5 separate regions of the Homo sapiens genome follow, and regions 1, 2, 4 and 5 are each linked to region 3. Evidence: promoter capture Hi-C in 16 types of primary human blood cells and fetal thymus (Javierre and others, 2016). All regions are on one chromosome and are shown on one strand. Each heading gives the region's core, a stretch centred on a gene start or on the middle of the fragment in contact. The rest is flanking DNA. Distances are from core to core; before and after follow the strand shown. Region 1 holds the start of SLC28A2 (solute carrier family 28 member 2). Region 2 overlaps SLC28A2 (solute carrier family 28 member 2). Region 3 holds the start of AFG2B (AAA ATPase AFG2B). Region 4 overlaps BLOC1S6 (biogenesis of lysosomal organelles complex 1 subunit 6). Region 5 has its middle 14 kb from the start of BLOC1S6.

Region 1 (2,700 bases), core at 201-2,700, 150 kb after region 3:
TATGGAGTTTATGGCACATGTTTAAGTTAATTAATTATGTAAGATACATATATATATGTACACATGGTAAGGTGGAGCGGTTGTGATAATACCACAAGCTGCCTGAAGGGGCAGCCCACCCTAGATCCTTTCCTAACTGAACAAGATTCCAAAACACCAGTACCTCTGGTAAGTGGAAGGGCCCAGTCCATCCCCCAGGCTGTGTCCTTGTGCGTCAGTCCTCTTGCTTCCCTCAGGCTCTACTTCTTTTTCCTACAAGCACAGAGAGCATTGGGATCAGTCATGGAGCCCTGCCAGGGATGATGGGGATTGAGAGCAGCCAAATACCCTACAGGAGCCCATGCAGCAGCCCACAGCTCTGCAGAGAGAAACTAAACTGGTGATTACCATGAGCTCCAGCCCCGGGTTCACTGTGCCAGTCTCCACTGTGGACAGAGCAATGGACTGTCTTCCACTTGCTTTCTCCATCTCCTGTTCTCCTCAACTGAAAAACAAATTCAGGGCCAAGCCTGAAAGATTGGTCATTCTGTTCTGTGGGGATGGGGAGAATTTTTAGGACCAGTTACCCATGGAAAACGCAAAACTAAAAGTCTTTGAAGGCTTAGTTGATTTCTTTAAGAACTGAGAATTGAGAAGATTGGATGTGTAATTTTTATATAATAAATAATGAAAAATAAAATCCTATTTCCTCTTGTGAATAGCTAAAGAAGAGGCAGTAAGATAGGAGAAGAGAAATGAAAGGCAGTGGAATTGAAATGAATCAGTGGGCCGCCCAGGGCCCCAGGATCTGGGCTATAAAGGTTCCTACTTGGACCCTCAAAGAAAGAGTCACAGGGTAACTACTCCTTTTAGCCCCAGGGAGGCCCCACTGAGCTTGCTGAGTAAGAAGGAAACAGGGAGGAAGGCAGTTGGGAAGACCCGGACCCTAAAGTATTGCTGAACAGATAACAATTTACAGGCCTTCAAATTCCTGACTATAATGTAGCATAAGAATTGGTTTTTTATGCCCCAGAGAGAACTCATCAGTGAAATTAACAAAACTTACATTTAAAATAATTAGTATGAATGTTAATGATCCCAAGTAAAGTTTTTAAACAAAATAAGCAAACATTTGGGCCTCAGAATAAGCAAATTTAATACATGGACATTCACAATTAGAATATAAGTTCATTCTGAGATATTTATTTACTTTGCAGAAAATTCCCTTCCCCATGGAATTGCTTTTGAAAATGTGATCTCTTCAAGCATTTGAAGTATAATTTCATTAAACACACATAACCAACTTATATTGTGTAAATTAGGGCCTTCCTGACTAGGCACAAAACTACCTGCATTTAGTTTAAATATGATCTCTTTAAAAATTTGTAAATTAGGCACCTGCCCTCCCCCAAACACCTTTACTTACCCCAGCTTGTGGAATTGATTCCCTCTGGCTCCTCAGTGAAGGACTGAAAGAAAAGCTCAGCTGCGAGGGAGGAGGGGCAGCTTGGGTGGGGCATGGGGGCTTTCCTGCCATTGGTTAGTTTTATGTCTTGGGCCCTCCTTCGCTGAGCCTGCCCTCAATGTAGAGGAGGACTGCACCTCTCAAGTTAAATATTATATGTTTTTAAGACTGTTTTGCAGGCCTAAGACTTATGCAGAGGTGGCGCCCGCCCGTAATCCCAGCACTTCGGGAGGCCGAGACGGGCGGATCGCTTGAGACCAGCCAGGATAACATGGCGAAACCACATCTCTACAACAAATACAAAAATTAGCTGGGCGCGGTGGCACACGACTGTGGTTCCAGTTACTCGGCAGGCGGAGGTGGAAGGATCCCTTGAGCCTCTGGAGGTGGAGGTTGCAGTGAGCTGTGATTGCGCCACTGCACTCCAGCCTGGGCGACAGAGTGAGACCCTGTCAGAAAACAAAACAAAACAAAAGAATTCTGTAAGAACTTCTAACAGGTACATTCCTGTAAGCATTACCCACCACTGGACTAGGCACTGGGTAGCCTGTAAAATACAGTAAGAGCCGTCTCTGCACCCAGAAAATTTACCATCATTTTGTGCTGGAAAGACATGCCCTAGAAAACAATAAACAGCACGACTGTACATGATTCCATGCCAAATGACTGCTAGGAATTATTTTATTAATCCATTCAACAAATACTTATTGAGTAACCACTATTAGCCAGCCACCGTTTTCCGTGTGAGGACATAAAAATGAGTGAGACAAGGTCTCTGCCATCAAAAAACGAACAGATCAGTGAGGAAAGACGGATGTGTCAAGAAAGGCTTTGCAGGTCGAGCGCGGTGAATCACGCTTGTAATCCCAGCACACTGGGAGGCAGAGGCAGGCGGATCATTTGAGGTCAGGCGCTCGAGACCACCCTGGCCAACATGGCGAAACTCCATCTCTACTAAAAATACAAAAATTATCCGGGCATGGTGGTGCAGGCTTGTAATCTCAGCTACTCAGGAGGCTGAGGCAGGAGAATCATTTGAACCCAGGAGGCAGAGGTTGCAGTGAGCCATGATCATGCCACTGCACTCCAGCCTGGGTGAGCGAGACTCCATCTCAAAAAAAAAAAAAAAAAAAAAAAAGAGGGAGAGAAAGACTTTACAGAGCTGGTAACACTTATCCTGGCCTGGAAAGAAAGAAAGAAAGCTTCCTATGACGCCCTCTGGATAAAACTTAGGACCCCTCCCTGCACTCTGATTG
Region 2 (2,700 bases), core at 1-2,500, 130 kb after region 3:
ACCATCACCCTCATGCAGCAGTATCTCCATCAGAGCTGAGGCACCTACCTGCCATACAGGCACTGATAAGGGATACACAGGCCCCTGTGAAGAGGGCCCTGACCACAACCTTGGACAAGTCACTCTTCCGGTGAGGTACTATTGATGCTGCAGACAATAAAATAAAATAACTTCAGCTTTTCCCCACCAAGGCAATCAGGTATATCCCATGGGCCCCCACTTAGAAGAACGCAGAGAAACAAAACACAGCCGATGAAGAGCATCCTTATTACCATCCACCTGAGACTGGCCAGTGTTGCCCTAAGAAGTGTGTGTATACATTAGTCCTGAGGGATCACTAACTTAGACTTTCCTCAGATCAAGTATTGAGTGTCTGACCCTCACTTTAATGGTTCTGTGAACATACCCAAGATGTATCTGGATAAAGCAAGGCTCTGGGTTTCTCCAGACAGGTACAAATGCCTGGCGTTCACTGCTTGAGATACGCACTCTTAAGCCTGGACCAGAATTAGATGGACTATTTTGAGACAGAGGGCTAAGGAAAGCAACACTCATTGTGTGGCCTAAGACTTAGCCACACAATGCATATCCCACTACTAGATGGCAGTCTCATAATCGGACAGTAATCAGGCATCAAGACTAGAACAATACAGTCAGGTGTTTGACAGAAGGGGAAAAGGTAAACTGAAAGGGAATTATTTCACCTTTCAATTAAATTGGCTACCAAGTACATGAATTAAATGACTCTACCCCAGAATATAATTGCCTTTAAAAAGGGACACACTGAGCTATATTTCTTATTATAATCTACTCCTTCTAAGATTCCTTCCTTCCTTCCTTCCTTCCTTCCTTCCTTCCTTCCTTTTCTTCTTTTTTTCTTTCTACAGGACCTCCCCATGTCACCCATGCCGGAGTGCAGTGGTGCAATCACAGCTTACTGGAGGCTCGATCTGAGTTCAAGCAATCCTCCCACCTCAGCCTCCCGAGTAGATAGGACTACAGGCATATGTGCAAATATGCCCAGCTAACTTTCAAATTCTTCGTAGAGACAGAATCTCACCATGTTGCCCCAGGCTGCTCTCAAACTCCTATAGCAAGCAATCTTCCTGCCTTGGCCCAAAGTGTTGGGATTACAGGCATGAGCCACCACATCCAGCCTAAGATCCATTTCTAACTTGGATCTTCCAAACTTGGGATCTGCTAGTCACCCCTGTGCCCCTGCACTCAAGGACAATTCCACTTTCCTCATATTATTCCTCCAACAATCACCCCCATGCAGCAGTATCTCCAACAGTCTAAATATATCTGTGTCTGCTTCAAAGACCCACTCCTTTAACATTTGGTACTTGCATATTTAAATCCAACACTTTACACCACTCTCTCTTACTGTCTATCTGCCTTATGTGCCTGCTGCTTTTATTTGTTTTAATTCTTTGTGTTTCCATGAGGATGACTAGTGAGCAGCCTAATTTCAAAAAGTGTCTTCACTACTGAATAAAATACAAGACCAGGTGTGGTGGCTCACGCCTGTTATCCCAACATTTTGGGAGGCCAAGGCAGCAGATCACTTGAGGCCAGGAATTCAAGACCAGCTTGGCCAACATGGTGAAACCCCGTCTCTTCTAAAAATACAAAAAAAATAATAATAATAATAATGGGCATAGTGGCACACACTTGTAATCCCAGCTCGGGAGGCTGAGGCATGAGAATCACTTAAACCCAGGAGGTGGAGGTTTAAGTGAGCTGAGATCACACCACTGCACTCCAGCCTGCGCAACAGAGTGAGACTCTGTTTCAAAAAAAATTAAATAAATAAATAAATAAATATCTTTATTTATATATGCACTATTCCAATTTAATGGCAAAATTGAAATAATATCATTATATTTTCTTCCTCATAGAGAAAATTAAAATAAAATTAGTTTTTGGGGCCTCCAATCCAAAGGAAAAAGAAGTAACTGAAGTTGAGATTATAAAGGGCTGTATGCATTAGCCAGGTGGGCATGACTGCCTTAGGTCCAAGTTAACTGCAGCCTAAGAAATGGGCCCATTTCACAATGGCTTCTCTATCTGATCCCAGCTTGTACTGAAGCACCAGGACTGCCCACTACAGAAGCTGGGATCTGGCTGTCTTACTGGGGAGCTGGGAAAATGGATGAACTCACTCAAGCCTCCAAGTGTGATTCCTATGGAACTAAGATTGGCAAATCCACAGAGTGAAAATGTTGTAATGATTTCAGCTCTCACCTAGGGAAAACAAAAATAAATAAGCAAATAAATTCAGTCCCATGCGTGCGGTCTTATAATCACAATAGAAGTTCCAGAGTACTGACAGCCCCCAGTCTTTTCCATGGTTTCCCAAGGAACATGAAAGGATGCTCAGAAAACAACTGTTCCCTGAGTTACTATAGGGATAATGACATGGAAACCACCATGGGCCTCATTGCCCAACGCTGTTCCTGTTGAAGGCTATGAATAACGAGAAGGCCTGGGAATGAGAAGGATTGCGAAGGAGGAGGAGAGAGGCAAAGGGAAAGAAAAAGAATATTAATTTGGAGCAATTTAAACTTATAAGTGAAGAAGGGGACCTTAGACCATCAAAAGATAGTGTCTGCCCTGGACTGCCCCAGCTGTAAAGACCCAGCAATTACATTATAGAGAGAAGTTGGGTCACAGTTGGGGCAGTGGTGGGGGTGGCAG
Region 3 (2,700 bases), core at 131-2,630:
TTTGACTCTGGGGAAATACAGGTCCTGACTCACAGATCATATATCGGCAGAGAACGTGTTCTCTGCATTGCAAAGAGCCCCAACTCCAACCTCACCGATGCTCAAACCTAAGAGGCAAACGCCTCCGGGGCAGCCAAATGGCGCCAGAAGCGGCCGAGGTTCCACCGACAGTGGGCAAACCCGCCAAGCCCATTCACCTCTCGGTCAAATCTCCCGGGCCTACGCAGCGCTGGGTCTAGAGCGTCCGGCCGGTTAGTGGCTCCCACAACCACGACCTCGCGGTCCCCACTGGCGCCGTCCAGCAGCGTCAACACCTGGGCCACTACGCGGCTCTCGGGTGCTCGACTGCCCCGCTGGGGACACAAGGCGTCCATCTCGTCCAGGAAGAGGAGGCTGGGTCCGCGGCTGGCCAGTTCCCGGGCGCGCTGGAAGACCCGCCGCACGTTCTCCTCGGTCTCCCCAGGCCGGGAACCCTGCAGCGCCGGGGCGCTGACTGCCAGCAGCTCCGCGCCCGCCTCGCGCGCCACGGCCCGCACCAGCTGGGTCTTGCCCACTCCGGGGGGCCCCGCCAGGAGCACCCCGCGAGGCACCGCTAAGCCCAGCGCGGTCAGGGCGCGCGGGTAGCGGAGCGGGAGGCGGAGGAGCTCCCGCAGCGAGTCGGCCGCCTCCGAAAGACCTCCCAGGGGCACCTCGGGCTGCGGCTGGGCTTCCGACGGAGGCTCCCCGCCAAGGCTGACGCGGGTACGAGGGGTGACCAGCCCAGCGGGATCGGGACTGGGCGTCCCGCCGACGATGTGCAAGGCAGCCACCAGGCCAGGAGCGCCTGGCGGAGCGACCACCACGTGGCCCAGGGAGATCGGTCGGTTTCTCAGCAGCTCCTGTGCCGCCTCCAGCACCGCGGCTGTATTCCGGGCACCGGGCGCGCCTGCCCGCTCTCGCAACACCGGCCACACGGCGACGCGCCGCAGGGGCGGACAGGGCACTAGGAGGAGGCGATTCAGGCTGAGACTCCTCCGGGATCTCGACGCCCCGACCGCCGCCCCGGGGCTCGCGCACAGCGGGTCCAGCTGCACAAAGCCGTCCGCTCCGTCCCGCCGAGGCCAGGCAGTGCAGAGGCAGGAGCCGCCGTCGGGTAGCGAGATCTTCACTGCCGAGCCCAAGCGCGCGCCCAGGGCGTGGAGGGCGGCCGGGCCCAGGCGGCAGCGCTGGGTGCCCCGGTCTCTAGCGTCTAAGGGTAGCAGCTTTAAGAGCGGCCCTTCAGGGAAGGGATCCGAGTCCGGAGCCATCGCACACAGATGAACCAGGCAGACGAAACCAGATTAGGAAACCCACCCGGCCCACAAAAAGCGGAACACCGAGCTCGCAGGCCGGAAGCAGATTGCGCGCATGCGCTAGGGCAGACTGCGTTGCTAGCAGCTGAGTGAAGGCCGAAAGGGCCAATGGAAACGTTAGACGACGCTCGGGCCTCTGGGTAGAGCGTTGGTGTCCGCTTTCGTGAAATCGAGTTGCCTAACCCAGAGCTTTCCCGAGATGGTCTTCGTTACAGGTGTCTGGGAGGCGGCTTAAGCTCACTTCACTAGGTCATTAAGCATGTACTTTGGTGGTTACATATATCTTGGAAGTCACCGGCTTTACATTCTGTTTTCCTGGCCTTCGAACTGGAGCATCAGTACTACCGCCGTTGGAATAGCAACCTAGAGACTTTGCTATTTTGTGAAGAAACTCTAACTATCCGCATGGGCACAGAATTTTGGGTGCTCTGGTGCAAATGTCTCAGGTGACTTGGCGTAACTGAGAATACAGCCTTGGGACCTTCGGTAATCGGGGTTCCAATCTGGGAGGTCCAGGCACAACCCTTCCTATGGGAAAGTACCAGCATAGTGGGAGGGAAGCACACGGTAGCGCTTAAAATCCCTTGTAGAGAGGAAAGAAGGAAAACTAGGCTACCTGATGGATTTGTAGCACACCAACAGTACATTTGTTCTGATTTCTGATATTCTTTTGAATATTCTTTGGCAACAAGTTAATCACTAAAGTTCATGCGATCAATGCTTACTGTCTAATTGGGGCACAACAGTACTAAGTCCTGTATTAGAGGCGATACCTATCTACGTTATTAAGACAACTGCCTGCTATTTTTTTTTTCCAGCTGCTTTCTGCCTTTCCCTTTCGCACAGGGAATTCCTTTTTATCAGCTGGAATACATTTTCTATCCCTCTTAATTGCCGTTAAAAAAGAACTACAGATACTCAAAGACAAGAAGATATACCTTGTTTTTATTTGACTTACATCTTCCTACCTCTATTTTCCCCACTTTCACTGCAACCCAAATTTGTGAGTTGACAAAACTGATATTTTAGAGTGCTTAAGTTGCTGGGAAGTTTTTTTTTTCTATCTATGCAAATAATCAATTACAGACTGTGTAGTAATATCTTATCAATGGGAAGTACTGTCAGATCTGGGATCTTAAGACCCATGCCAGTTCCTGATCTCATTCTGTCCAAACTTCATGGCAGACATGACAGACTTCTTGACTTGACAGTAACTTACCTGGTCTCAGCTGTACTTGTCTGCTTAAATCGATTCTGGAACAATTTAGGAATCAGAAAATAGCAGGAGGAGGTCTTGAAATGGATAAGTCACCCATTACTTCCTGTTTTCTTTTTTCCTCTTAATCCCATTGGCTTCAGTTCTTTTTGG
Region 4 (2,700 bases), core at 1-2,500, 200 kb before region 3:
CATCATAACCCAAATATGGGACAGGAGAAGAAAACACACAAACACAACTTTTCACATCCTTTTGGCTGGTCTGGCAGTTAACTGCTTTTCTCTTTCAAACTCCTTCTCTCGTTGCTGCTCCCTTTCCAACTCTTCTTTTTGCCTCTTCTGCTGCAGTTTAAGTGCTCTTTTCTGTGTTAAAAAAAAAATTTAAAAACCAAGAGAGCAATCAGGGGTTACAGGTTTAGCCTAATTTGAAAATAACAGTGCTCTGCTTTGAGGTAATTCATTCACACTAATAAACTTCATCTTGGACATTTAAATTTGGGATAATTTAAGGTCCCTTTGATTCAAAAAAATTTGTTGCTCTAAACTCTTATTAAATGAGAACTGTAGGGCATATCCAGAGAATCTAAGCCTATCAGCCCAGCTATTAGTAAAAATGCTCAGAGTGCAGTTGAAAAAAAAATGATATTTTTAAGGCTGCACGCAGTGGCTCATGTCTGTAATCCCAGCACTTAGGGAGGTCGAGGCCAGAGGGCTGCTTGAGCTCAGGAGTTTAAGACCAGCCTCGGAAACGTAGTGAGACCCTGTCTCTAATATTTCTTAAACAATGACATTTTTAAAAAGAAAACAATGTACCATGAATGAATTATGCTATTGTATATGAGGGTATAAAAGTCAAAATATGAATACTGGCCGGGCACAGTGGCTCACGCCTGTAATCTCAGCACTTTGGGAGGCCAAGGCAGGCGTATCACCTGAGGTCAGGAGTTTGAGACCAGCCTGGCCAACATGGTAGAACGCTGTCTCTACTAAAAATACAAAAATTAGGTGGGTGTGGTGGCGGGCACCTGTAATCCCAGCTACCTGGGGAGCTGAGGCAGAAGAATCGCTTCAACCCCGGAGGCAGAGGTTGCAGTGAGCCGAGATTGCACCATTGCACTCCAGCCTGGGCGGCAAGAGCAAAACTCCGTCTCAAAAAAAAAAAGAATACTGAAAAAAAAAAAAAACAACAAAAAACAATTAAACCTCTACTTTTGTAAAGAATGTGAAAGAATTTTCAACTCACTTTTAACTTTGATGTTTTTTCATGAAGCATCAGCATCTCTTTTCTTATATTCACCAACTTGGCATGATAGTGTTTAGCCTCAGCAAACTTAACATGGAAAAATAAATGAAAAGTCAAGTTAAAATAGACTAAAATATCAAAATGAATAAATAAGGCAATATATAAATGATAGTTTGTGCTTCCTAAATTGGTCAAAATTTTTACAGCCTTATCTTCACATTTTAATTCCAAAATAAAGATTTCCTTATATTGTTAGTAGGATTTGAAAGACATTTGATTTAGTTCAGATTGACAAAAGTGTTACTAAACATAAAATAGACATTTATATTAAGATGGGCATAGACAATATTTTGCTTTAAAAACATATAATTCTAAAATTTCAGATAAGACTATCTAATAATGCTATCAGTTTCATTTAAGAAAAGTAAAACATTCTCTCTGCCTTTACAAGAGACAGACTGAGCCAGAGCACATGAAACAGTTTAAGTGAAGTGTCTGCCCATAAGGAAAACCCAAACTGTGGCCACAGAGCCCTGGACAGAAAGGACTGTGGACAAGTTTAATCCATTCCTTGGGCTGCTTTAGTCAGACTAAGCAGAATGATCTCTGTGAGGACACTTTCCTTCTTGAGGAGTCTTAAGTACAGACTTTACAACTCAGCCAACCTGCATAATCTAAAATGAAGTCTTATGTCAGGAGAAGATGGGAGGATGATGCAAGCCTAGAGATGTCAGAGAGAAGGAGAAAAGCACCCTATTTTCAGACAAGGTTACAGAAAGAGAAGAAATGAAAGAAATGTCAGTAGAGAGATTCACAGCCTTAATGTAGCTGCAAGTAAAGTCATTGTCTGATTAGCTCAGAAGTTACAGTGCCTTTTTACATATCCTGGGCCTTCCAGTTTTCAGTTCCCAGATGATAATAAAAACTACTCTTGACTAAGAGAAGAAAAAAGAGGAAGACTCCATCCTGCCCCTTCAGACTAAAGCAACAGTATTACATCTGCTTGGTTAATTCATTCAACATTCATTCATTCAACAAATATTCCTTCTGTTGCAACAGGATTTCAGTGGGGAACACAAAAATAGGTCAGTGTAGCCTTGCCCACCTCCCTCGCAAGAAACCAGGAACTACTGGGCAGATGGCTCTGTATTTACTTCCACAGGCCTCTAATGCCAGAGAATATGAACTTTGTTTTTAATTGTTACAAATGGAAAACATTAGTAAACCATCTTTGTCCAAAGAAAAGTCCATTTTTTTGAGGTATGCATGAATGGCTACAGTCATGTAAACCCAGCTTCTTTTTTTCTTAATAGAGATGGGGTCTTGCTACGTTGGCCAGGTTGGTCTTAAACTGCACGCCTCAAGTAATCCTCCTACCTCAGCCTCCCAAAGTGCTGGGATTACAGTCATAAGTCACTGTGCCCTGCCCACAAACAAAACTATTTTTAATGTTCATCAGAAAATAAAGGTAGCAAAACAAGTTCCTTTTTTTGGTTAATTCCTTGTTTCTTATAATACAGAGTATCACTTCCTCTCATCAAAAAGCTATAGAACTTCTGATGAAATTCAACTGTTCAACTATTTATATTGAAAGATATAACTGATCATTCTCAAAGCGTCCACTTCAGCCTATAGCATTAATTTATTAT
Region 5 (2,700 bases), core at 86-2,585, 170 kb before region 3:
GGGACTGCACGTAGCTCAACACTGGCCTGCAGGCACCTCTTGGCACAAACATCCTGGGTGCCAATGAATGGCCGTGAGAGGCAGACAGGCTCCTGGGAGGAAGGGGGTGGGTCCCCAGTGAAGCTCCACTTTCAGGCCAGGGAAGGTCCTACCAGTCCTGCCCACCAGAGGGGGAACTTGTGGTGCTTTTTCCTGAGCCCACCTATTGCTGCCCATGGACCAATCAGCATATACTTTCCCCACTCTGAATGAAAACCATAAAAACCCCAGACTCAGCCAGAGCAGGGCAGACATCAGGATGGCCAGCTGCATAGAGGAACTACCATCTCCGCTGAGAGATGAACATTTTTGGGGATGACCTGTCAGCAGAGAGGAGCCATCCACTCCAGGCCTCCTCTCTGCTGAGAGCTGCACACTCGATGGGACGACCTGCCCACAGAGAGGACCTGCTCACCGCGGGTCTCCTCTGAGCTGTTCTGACCCTCAGTAAAGTTCTTCTTCGTCTTGCTCACCCTCCACTTGTCTGCATACATCACTCTTCCTGGACATAGGACAAGAACTTGGGCAAAGGCACCACCACCCACAGAGGTTTCCAGCCAGAAAAGCAGCACCTCAAATATCCCAAGAAAAGAAATAGCAAAGGGCTAAAGTCAAAAGATTTGTTTCAAGCCCAGCTAAGATAATCATTAGCTGTATTAGATTTTTGTCTAACCAACTAGCAAGTAGAGAAGTCCAGACCTTCCTAAACAAACAAAGGAAGTTTTGATCAACTGAGCTTGAAAGTCCGGGGGCTGCTCTGGCTTCAAGGATTTCTATGTCTTCTCCTCAGCCAAAATAGGAATCTCTCCCTCTCTCTCCCTTTGATTCTCCACTCTGCTTTCTCCTATGTAGCATTCACTCTAGGAGCTCTCTCAATGTGATAGGAAAATAGCTCCAGGGTTTCATGATCCTTACATCTCCCAAGTGAAGTCAGTGCGCTCCTAGCATTCATTTATTTCAATCCCTTAAAAAAAAAAAAAAAAAAACTCAAAGCCAGGCACAGTGGCTCACACTTGTAATCCCAGCACTTTGGGAGGCTGAAGCAGGTGGCTCACTTGAGGTCAGGAGTTCAAGACCAGCCTGGCCAACATGGTGAAACCCCGTCTTTACAAAAAATACAAAAATTAGCCAGGTGTGGTGACGCATGCCTGTAATCCCAGCTACTCGGGAGGCTGAGGTAGGAGAATTGCTTGAACCCAGGAGGCAGAGGTTGCAGTGAGCCAAGATTGCACCACTGCACTCCAGCCTGGGCAACAGAGCAAGACTCCATCTCAAAAAAAAAAAAAACACTCAAATACTTGGATTACATGCCCACCCGTATACCAATCTCTGCATCTAGGGGAATATAGTGGACCCTGATGGGTCAGTGTGGGTCACACATAACAGACAGAGGCAGAGCCCCTTGACTGACAGACCTGCTAGGAGTTATAGAAAGGCACTGGGTAGTTCCTTAAAGGAAAAATCAGAGTCCTATTACCAAAAAGAGGAAGGAAATTGGCCCAACCAAAACAACAGATGTCAACTATATCAGTTATGAGATTTTAGTCAAGTCACTTACTCTCTGAACCTGTGTTTTTTTCATCAGTAAAAGAGGCATGATAATGATAATACCAGACCCATTACTCGGTGTAGTTCTTGTAAGAATCAAGCACGCATTATATGAACAGGATTTGTAAACTGCTGCAAGACACTATTGTAAATAATAGCACCCACTAAACGAGCATTTATTATGGCTAGAAGAAATAGTATTATTTCTGTTATTAGTGCCTTGGATACATATATTCACTAACCTTAATGTGATCTCTTAAATAGACTTTAGGTTTCCTAAGTAACCATTCAACCTTAATTTGGCTTCTTATGTAGACTTCTCTGTTGAAATAAGAGGGACTAAATGACTTAAATGAATATCGGAGGGCTTGGCAATTCTATGTTTTATTAAAATTCATTTCTTTTATACAAATCAACTTCATACAATAGGCAGTTTTTTAGTGGTTAATATCAACTGGTTAAGCTGGCAACTGAAGTTGCAAACCTGCAAAATTAGAAGATCAAGCTGTGAGGGATAGAGAACATCACCAATACCAGTGTTCTGCTTCTATTGGCAGGTGGGGAATCTTTTTTATTTTTTATTTAGTATTATCAAATCTGACAGTAAATGAATATCCGTAATATTGAGTGTTAATCATTTGAAATAGTATCAGTGTTTTTGAACTATTAGTAAAACTAGTCACAAATGATGATTCATTCAAATAACTTTAAATATTATTCAAAAGACAGCGATTCTTCTTCCACTTTGGGGTTTTCACAAAATTCATTTGTTAATCTTACATGTAGATATCAAAGTAGCCATCAGTCATTATTACTTTATTCTCTATGTTATGGAAAAAGTGTGATTTTAATGACCATAGGCATCATATATTATTCCAGGACTCAGCTTTCCTTTTAGGATAGATTTATTTAAATTAGCTAGGAGATAGATCATGCTTCATTTAAAATTGCTAAAATAAGTACTTGCATTAGCTATGCAAAATAGTCCTTTTTTTACTTAAAATGTTCTCTTCAAAGTGTTTCAGTTGCTAAATGTGAATTATTTCCAAAGATTCTCCAGACCAAAAGGTGAGATGATATTTTAAAAATTCAATTTCCTTATAATGTAATGAG

The links. Contacts are between HindIII fragments. The CHiCAGO score rates a contact against its expected background, and 5 or more counts as called.
Region 1: the fragment with the promoter of SLC28A2 here is called in contact with the fragment with the promoter of AFG2B in region 3 in 1 of 17 cell types (M2 macrophages); the score reaches 5.2 in M2 macrophages.
Region 2: a contact is called between a fragment that was not itself captured here and the fragment with the promoter of AFG2B in region 3, in 9 of 17 cell types (naive CD8 T cells, naive CD4 T cells, monocytes and 6 more). The highest score is 7.9, in naive CD8 T cells.
Region 4: a fragment that was not itself captured here is called in contact with the fragment with the promoter of AFG2B in region 3 in 14 of 17 cell types (total B cells, naive B cells, naive CD4 T cells and 11 more); the score reaches 11.6 in total B cells.
Region 5: a fragment that was not itself captured here is called in contact with the fragment with the promoter of AFG2B in region 3 in 13 of 17 cell types (monocytes, naive CD8 T cells, total B cells and 10 more); the score reaches 10.3 in monocytes.

Annotation. Positions count from the first base shown.
Region 1 is chr15:45,250,984-45,253,683 of GRCh38, reverse strand. SLC28A2 (solute carrier family 28 member 2) reads right to left here and starts at 1,450. Exons shown (of 18, transcript NM_004212.4): 1 at 1,406-1,450; 2 at 388-484; 3 at 164-252. The coding sequence starts at 468. It overlaps SLC28A2-AS1 (SLC28A2 antisense RNA 1), which reads left to right. Exons shown (of 5, transcript NR_120335.1): 5 at 1,612-2,103. The HindIII fragment of the contact is 6,298 bases long and covers 1-2,648 here.
Region 2 is chr15:45,269,742-45,272,441 of GRCh38, reverse strand. SLC28A2 (solute carrier family 28 member 2) reads right to left here. Exons shown (of 18, transcript NM_004212.4): 15 at 2,166-2,247; 16 at 49-147. All of the region lies in intron 1 of SLC28A2-AS1 (SLC28A2 antisense RNA 1), which reads left to right. Among named protein-coding and RNA genes, the nearest start is that of SLC28A2-AS1, 8.1 kb to the left of the region's middle. The HindIII fragment of the contact is 8,722 bases long and covers 1-2,700 here.
Region 3 is chr15:45,401,016-45,403,715 of GRCh38, reverse strand. It overlaps AFG2B (AAA ATPase AFG2B), which reads right to left and starts at 1,380. Exons shown (of 8, transcript NM_024063.3): 1 at 198-1,380. The coding sequence starts at 1,286. It also overlaps a transcript of GATM not described here. RefSeq lists silencers at 548-697, 1,088-1,167 and enhancers at 1,248-1,407, 1,798-1,867, 1,878-1,927. The HindIII fragment of the contact is 3,246 bases long and covers 1-2,700 here.
Region 4 is chr15:45,603,866-45,606,565 of GRCh38, reverse strand. BLOC1S6 (biogenesis of lysosomal organelles complex 1 subunit 6) reads right to left here. Exons shown (of 5, transcript NM_012388.4): 4 at 1,052-1,138; 5 at 1-171. The coding sequence ends at 52. Among named protein-coding and RNA genes, the nearest start is that of BLOC1S6, 18 kb to the right of the region's middle. The HindIII fragment of the contact is 4,089 bases long and covers 1-2,700 here.
Region 5 is chr15:45,571,659-45,574,358 of GRCh38, reverse strand. No RefSeq gene overlaps it. Among named protein-coding and RNA genes, the nearest start is that of BLOC1S6, 14 kb to the left of the region's middle. The HindIII fragment of the contact is 5,703 bases long and covers 1-2,700 here.